2 separate regions of the Homo sapiens genome follow, and region 1 is linked to region 2. Evidence: promoter capture Hi-C in 16 types of primary human blood cells and fetal thymus (Javierre and others, 2016). All regions are on one chromosome and are shown on one strand. Each heading gives the region's core, a stretch centred on a gene start or on the middle of the fragment in contact. The rest is flanking DNA. Distances are from core to core; before and after follow the strand shown.

Region 1 (4,348 bases), core at 873-3,372, 600 kb before region 2:
AGATGCAATTTCTTACAACCATTAACTAAGTCCTCTTTATACTTCATACATGTGTTAGCTAATTGAACTCTCTAACTAAACGCTGATCTATCACTATCTTTTTCAGAAAGAATGAGAATCATCTAAGGTATCTCAATGATTAATTACAAATGACAATATCTAACACACATTAAATGCTCAGTGTGATGAGTGTTTTACATGCAATATATCACTGAATTCTCAAAACAACTTTGTCAGGTAAACCCTATTATTTTTATTGTATAGAAAAAAATAAACTTTCTCTGTATGTTCACATTCAACACACTTCTGTGAGCAGGTATGTGGGTTTTTTCCCCACACATTCAATTCTCCTGTGGACATCAATTGGATGTCCTAAAATTCCATTCAATTCTGATTTTAATCAGAGTTGGCATAGACCTCACCAGTTAATGACTTAATCCCACAAGACTGTTCCCCATTTCAGATGCCAATCACAAGTCCTAGGTGTCACCTGTACTTCTGATGGACTGGCTATTAATCAGAGTTGTCACAACACCCTCCTCAGGTTTGAATATTTGCTAGGAAGGGTCACAGAACACAGAGGAGCACTAACTTACCATTACCAGTTTATTGTGTTAAAAAATAGGATAAAGGATATAGATGAACAGCCAGATGAAGAAATACAGAGGGTGAGGTCCAAAAGGGGCCGGGTGCAGGAGCTTCTGTCCTCGTGGAATTGAAATGCACCATGCTCCCAGCTTCTGTGTATGCTTCCCAACCCGGAAGCTCCCTGAAACTCATAGTTGAGGGATTTTTATATAGGAATGACCAATTAGTAACTCAATCTCCAGGCCCTCTTTCCTCCCTGGAGGATAGAAAATGGGGCTGAAAATTCCAACCTTCTAATCATGGCTTAATCTTTCTGATGACCAGCCCCCTTCTAGGAGTCTAGCAAGAGTTGTCTTATTCGAACAAAAGAAGCTCCTATTACCCAGAAAATTCCAAAGAATTAGAAGCTTTGTGTCAGGAATCAGGATCACAGACTAAATATTAGAACAATAATGTACCTAGCACCTCTATCATTCAGGAAATTTAAAAAGTTTAGGAACTCTGTGGTGGTGGCACAGTTATATACATATTTGGTGGCACGGGCCATATATATTTTTTATTGTTACCTTATCATCACCATTTTATAGGTGAGGAAACTAAGACACAGTATGTTTTAGTAACTAGCCCAAAGTCTCGCAGCAGGTAACTGGAGGAATTGGGTTCCAACCAACATCCATCTGACAGCAAAGCCAAAAGTCATAACCACTGTGCTATTCAAACTCGCTTCAGACATCTATACCACAATGGAGTGTGGGCACAGCAGCGGTTTGCAAGTAGGGCAGCTCCCAACTTGTTTGTCCAACATACTGATAACATACATATTTGGTCATTGAGATATTGTGATTTATAATAAGAAATATTATAATATAATCTTAATATAATCTCAGAAGGGTATCTTTTGTATTCTAAGGTGAGATGACTAACGGCTGGGGCCTCCTGGAGAGCCTTGGAGGGAGGCTAGCTGCCAGGGGAAACAAGTATGTAATTAGAGGGTTAGAACTTTCAGCATCAGCCTCTCACCTTCAGGGAGGGGCTGAAAGTTGAGTTAATCACCACGGCCAATGATTTAAATCAATCATGCCCTACATAGTGAAATCTCCATAAAAACCCAATAGGACAGGGCTCAAAGAGCTTCTGGGTTTGTGAATAAGAATCCGTCCATGTGCTGGGAGGCTGACACACTCCAGCTCCACAGGGACAGAAGTTCCCGTGCCCTGCACCATTCCGGACCTCACCCTGTGTATCTCTTAATCTGACTGTTTATCTGTAGCCTTTGTAATAAACCAGTAAACATTAAGTGTTTCCCAGCCCTGTGAGCTGTTCTAGTAAATGACTGAACCTGAGAAGGGGGTCATGGGAACCCTTGATTCAGAGTACAGATCACAAGCTGGGACTTACTACTGGCACTGGAGTAGGGGCAGTCTTGTGGGGTCTGTGCTCTGTATTCATCAGTGCAGCCTGGAGTTGGACATCCAGTTGGTGTCTGCAGAGAACTGGAGAATTATTCCCACACAGAATAACCCCTATACATTTGGCAGCCAGAAGTGAAGTGTGAGTGTAAGCATGGTGAAAAATACAGTTTGTTTTTCTCAGTCACTCAGCTGCAGAACCTTCCTCTACCCTCAGGCCCCATACTGTTGACATTTCTGGAAAGGGAGCCCCTTTCAGACTGCATTCCTCCCACTAGAGGACTCTGTCCTTCCCCAATTTTCTCTCTCTCTCTCTCTCTCTCTGTCTCTCTCTCTCTGTCTCTCTCTGTCTCTCTCTCTGTCTCTCTCTCTGTCTCTCTCTCTCTCTCTCTCTCTCTCTCTCCCCTCTCTCCCCTCTCTCCCCTCTCTACCCAGTGCAGCTCCTCTCCTGGGCCCCTCTCCTCCCAATCACCTGCATGATTACCAATTACCAGCCCTCCAGTTTACTTCCATTAAGGATTCCATCGTCCAGTCTGCAGTCTGCTCTCCAAAGGCATGATTTTCCATACAAAAAAAAGTGTTAGTTTCAAACAACCAGCTTACCAACAAGCTCTATCCATTCGAATGGTCTGTTCAAGACTATTTTATAGTGAAAATTGCTATCTAGCCACATCTCTCCAAATCTTACAGTGAAAACTGTGCTTTTGATATATGTCAGGATGAAGTTAAGTCAAAGTTTCCTGTTTCACTTTTTACTGTACTTATGTAAATCAATCATTAGTGGACTCTTAAATGGTTTCCTAATGCCAGAAATGATTAGTCACTCAATGTGTTAATGGCACATTTTGTGAAATCTTTTCCAATGCAAAAACCACACAGCATCTGGGCTTCCTGTTCTGTATTTCTTTCTGGCCTTCACTATCTTGAAATTATCTGGTGCATATTTTTTATTTCCGCTTATTTATTGGCAGTATTTTCATTCTCTACACTTTTCTTCTCCTTATATTCTTTTAGGCTAGTCTTTGAAACGTCAGTCTCTGTCCATTGAAACTAAAATAAGAAAGAAGGAGAAAAGGAAATTGATGTCTTTCAAGTTGTAATAGTAATATGTTTCGTTTATAAAAATCAATTTTTTTTACCAGTAAAACATTAACTTTTGGCCTTCATTAATCAGAAAAGAAAACTGGATCAGTCTGAAAATGCCTTTCTCAAATAAGTCATACCATCCTTAGAACAGTGATGCAGCAGTTCTCAAGCTTGAGAACACATGGGAATCACCTGGAAAGCTTGTAAAAACACAAGTTGCTGGGTCCCATCCCTAGAGTTTCTGATTTAATAGGTCTGCGGTGGTTCCCTGAGAACTGACATTTCCAACATGTCCCAGGTGAAGTTGATGCTGCTGGTCGGCAGCACACTCTGAGAACAAATGGTGCAATATCAGAACTCACAAAGGCCTTGGAAATCATTTCTGCCTTACTTAGAGCGCTGCTGGTTGCAACTTACAAAATCCCACTCAGACTGGCCTGAGTGCAGAAGGGCATTTATTGGAAGCAGTTGGGATATCTGCTAGACTCCAAAATGAAGTTGAAAAATCAGGTGGAATATGGCACCAGTAGGGAGCACCAGGAAGGATGCGGTTCTCAGAGAAGAGTGGTGTAGGCTCAGCAGAGACTCTAAATATCGTTACTGCATCATCTCAGCTCCCATTTTTCAAAAGAGAACTGCAGTTTGAGGAAATTAAGAGCTTGCTACAGAGCATACATCTAATAGTGGCAAAGCCAAAGCTGGAAGTGGTGAGTAGCAATCTGTATCTTAGCCAGTGGTATGCTGGAGCTGTGGGTACCAGCCCCAGAGAGCTGGTTGTTAAATATTCAGGAATCTTTTGAGCAGGTCAATCTTGGTAGCTGGAAGCTGGCCACAGTCAGAATATTTACACTGAAATATTGGCTGATATTACAGACCAGGATCTTTTTTCTTCCTCTCTTTCTTTTCAAAGAGCAAGCTAACAGCACACCATTGCCTAATTCCATGTAGGGAGGATTTAGAATCAATGCAGATGTCATATATTGAACAAGAGGCAATCCCAGTGTGCAGTTTTTTCCAGTAGTAGCCATCCCTAATCCCACTATTGGCTGATGGCCCTGGTGCTGCCAGCTAGACCTCTTTATTTTATTTTTACTTTCTTTCTTCTCTCTCTCTTTCTTTCTTTCTTTTTTTAGACAGAGTCTCACTCTGTTGCCCAGGCTGGAGTACAGTGGTATGATCTCAGCTCACTGCAACCTCCACCTCCCGGTTCAAGCAATTTTCCTGCCTCAGTCTCCCGAGTAGCTGGGATTACAGGCACGCACCAC
Region 2 (3,840 bases), core at 7-2,506:
TTGACTTATTGCAATCAAGAAGACTGCACACCAGAGGAGCTGTGGTGTGTCTCACCGTACAAAATAAAAGGTAGTTATTGTATGTTTTGGCGGGGAGAGTGAAGTTTAGGTGAAATTTAAATGAAATCTCAAAGCATAGCTGTGTGTAAAGGCATTAACATCAGGTCTGGACGAGAATTGAATGTAGGGCATGTTTCCTTGGAAACTGCAAAGTTAAGAAAATACAGAATGTTTTCAGAACCGTTTATCTGAAGCTCTACACCTGGATAGAAATTGAGGCTGCTTCTCTGCGTCAAAGAGACTTAGATCCTCCAGGCAAGGATGGGACTTTTCACTCGTTCTGATATAATTTCAAATAGCAACGTTTATGTGGACTTGAAAGAACAAGGTTTCGGCCAGACGCGGTGGCTCACACCTGTAATCGCAGCACTTTGGGAGGCGGACGCGGGCGGATCACGAGGTCAGAAAATAGAGACCATCCTGGCTAACACGGTGAAACCGTGTCTACTAAAAATACAAAAAAATTAGCCGGGCGTGGTGGCGGGCACCTGTAGTCCCAGCTACTCGGGAGGCTGAGGCACGAGAACGGCATGAACCTTGGAGGCAGAGCTTGCCTCCAAGCTCTGCCACTGTACTCCAGCCTGGGCGACAGAGCGAGACTCCGTCTCAAAAAAAAAAAAAAAAAAGAAGAAATAACAAGGTTTCTCAGTGTGTAGTAAGAATGTACTTAAGTGGTAATACTTTTCCGTTGCAGCATGTCCTAAAAGAAACATTGTTTCCTCTTAACGTCGTCTGGCTTTATTTGACTCTGTTATCCATCCAGATGAAAGGCTAGGCAGTTTGTTACTTTCTCAGCCCAAGCTAAGTTTTACCGTCTCAGCAAGAACGACTCAGTCTCTCAAATCATAGCTAATTCTCCTCTGAGGGCCTTGCTGAAGTTCTGCGTTTGCTTGCTCCGCTTTCCTCTCATTTTGGACCTCCAGCCTTCCTGTAGTCCGAGGCCCTGCACCGGGGTCAAACGCGCCTCCGGTCTTCACGTAACCGTTCAAGCATCCCTCCTTCCCAGGACACACTCAAAGCGTCAGAGCGGTCCGCTCTTCTCAAGTCCTATTGGCTCAAGTCCATGCGTCTCATGGCACTGCCGGGTGAGAGGCGGAAAAAGGCCTTCCCAGGCGCGAGAAGATGACGTCACAGTAGCCCGGCCGGGCGCCGAGGTTGCCTTAGGGCTCTCTGCCCAGTAACAGGCATCGAACGGTGCAGACTGAAGACGCCCTCCGTCAGCGACGCCGTCGCAATGGCCATTTGTCAATTCTTCCTTCAAGGCCGGTGCCGCTTTGGAGATCGGTGCTGGAACGAACATCCCGGTGCTAGGGGTGCAGGAGGAGGACGGCAGCAACCGCAGCAGCAGCCTTCAGGTGACTCTCCTCTGAATCCTCCGCGGTAACCGAGCCGGGAAGGGTCCGCCGGCGGGGACCGGGCGTCCCGCGTGTTTCCCGCTGCTGGTGACCCCAACGTGCCCGCGTCGCGGCCTTGCCGGCCCTACTGGGCCCTGCACAACGTTTTTAAACCGAGGGTTTTATCTACATATTATTCATGTGGTCCGTTTTTATTGAGCTTCTGAGGACCTGGGTTTGGGCCTGGATGCTTGTGCGAAACTGAGTTTTTAAATCGGAAGTACCTATCGAAACTACCTTGTAGGTAAATGCCGGAATTGAATATAATTTTTACTAAGTTGTTTTTTCGAGGGTGAGGCTAGCAGCTTGGGTCAGAATCAGGACTTCATTTTGGAGAAGTCGTGGACTTCTTTGAAAAAATCTAATAAAACCGGCCGGGCGGTGGCTCACGCCTGTAATCCCAGCACTTTGGGAGGCCGAGGCGGGCGGATCACGAGGTCAGGAGTTTGAGACCAGCCTGACCAACATAGTGAAACACCGTCTTTACTAAAAATACCAAAAAAAAAAAAAAAAAAAAAAATAGCCGGGCGTGGTGGCGCGCGCCTGTAATCCCAGCTACTCATGAGGCTGAGACAGGAGAATCGCTTGAACCCGGGAGGTGGAGGTTGCAGTGGGCCGAGATCGTGCCACTGCACTCCAGCCTGGGCGACAGAGCGAGACTATCAAAAAAAAAAAAAGAAAGAAAGAAAAGAAAAAAAGAAAATCTAATAAAACCTATAGAGCCATACCGCAAAAATGCACCTGCTCATAAATTTGGGGTGAAATTGGGAATGTGGGACGCCCAGTTAAGGGCTATCCGGGAGGTGAGGAAAGGAGATGCGGGGGCCACGTTGATCTAGTCCCTGGGCCTAGATCATTGTCAAAGCTTTTTATCTTCAAGGAAAGGAGAGATTAGACATGAAACCTTAGAACAACACAAGATTTTTAAAGATCGGGTTAATAATTCGGTGCTGTCTCCCTTCCTTCCCCTCCTTTAGGGCTATTCATCTGACCTTTATTTTTTTATTTTATTTTGAGACGGAGTCTTGCTCTCTCAGTCAGGCGGCTCACTGCGACCTCCGCCTCCCAGGCTCAAGCGATTCTTATGCCTCAGTCTCCCGAGTAGCTGGGATTACGGGTGCCCGCCACCATGCCCTTGATAATTTTTGTATTTTTAGTAGAGACAGGGTTTTGCCATTTTGGCCATACCGGTCTCGAACTCGTGACCTAAGGTGATACTCCCGCTTCCGTCTTTCAAAGTGCTGGGATTACAGGCGTGAGCGACCGCGGCGGGCCTCATCTAACCTTTAAACCTTGTATTGCGTGATGGTTTCACGTCTGATCCCACTTCAGGGAAGACAGTCCTTTTATTTCCTCCACAATTAATCTAGTGAAATATTTCAGACCGAAAATTAGGACTCATGTCTGATGAATGTGAGTGTAAACAAAATTTGGCAGACAAATTGTATTTAGCTCCCAGAAACAAATGAATGTTTCTGGAATTATAAGTATGAAGACCAAAAGCAATGTAAAAAAAAAAAAAAAAAAAAAAAAGGAGGAAGTGAGTTTCTTCAGTTGTATCATCCCCCAGTGAATTTGGAACTTTAGAAGAAGAAGATACCATTAACTTCTACTTGAGGGATCTGGTCTAGCAATCTCCACTTTTTTTTTTTTTTTTTTTAGGGTAGTTTAGAGTTGCAGGATGAACTTTCACAACTGGGCATGTGTGTCATTCTAACTTTTAATATAATTAATGGCTTATCTCTTTATTCAGTCAGAAACAAGATGAATTACCTTAATCTTGGCCCCAACTAGGAAGTGATGAGTAAATGAGATTGCTAAAATGATTTTAAAAAACAAAACAAAACCAATATATAAAGAGAGGAGAGAATCTTTTTGGCTCATTTTGATATTTATGAAATATTGGAAAGCTGGTAGAGGAACTACATGCATTCTGTACACATGTAAATACCATGTATAATCTCTCTGTGAAAATAGGTGTGTAGGTGTTTGCCCAGAGAAAAGACTGCGTCAAATAGACTTAAGCATCTGTACAAAAACAGAGGGTAGAATGTAATCTTTCATATTCGAGAAACTTTAATTCAATGTCCATTTTTCAGCCTTTACTACAGTATAGGGCCTGGTGGGGGAGCAAAGAATGATAAAAACCCAAGTTTTTATCCTGAAGGAGTTTATGATTTATGATGCATGCCTTCTGTCAACTTTTAACTATCAAGCAGTTGTTCATTTAATAAGCTTTGTCAGCTGAATTTAGTAATATATCACTATTTTTCTATATTATTTTCTTCTCAATCTCAAACAAAAATGCAATTGGCCACTATGTGATTTGTTGATATTACAACCTAACTACTGTATATAAATAAAAAATGAAGAGATTGTCATTTAA

Evidence for each region. The method cuts DNA at HindIII sites, captures the fragments that hold promoters and counts their contacts. A CHiCAGO score of 5 or more calls a contact.
Region 1: a contact is called between a fragment that was not itself captured here and the fragment with the promoter of NUP42 in region 2, in 1 of 17 cell types (monocytes). The highest score is 5.6, in monocytes.

The regions. Positions count from the first base shown.
Region 1 is chr7:22,584,732-22,589,079 of GRCh38, forward strand. No RefSeq gene overlaps it. Among named protein-coding and RNA genes, the nearest start is that of STEAP1B-AS1, 24 kb to the left of the region's middle. The HindIII fragment of the contact is 2,258 bases long and covers 994-3,251 here.
Region 2 is chr7:23,180,792-23,184,631 of GRCh38, forward strand. It overlaps NUP42 (nucleoporin 42), which reads left to right and starts at 1,257. Exons shown (of 7, transcript NM_007342.3): 1 at 1,257-1,415. The coding sequence starts at 1,295. RefSeq lists enhancers at 852-1,451, 1,552-1,621. The HindIII fragment of the contact is 4,881 bases long and covers 1-2,317 here.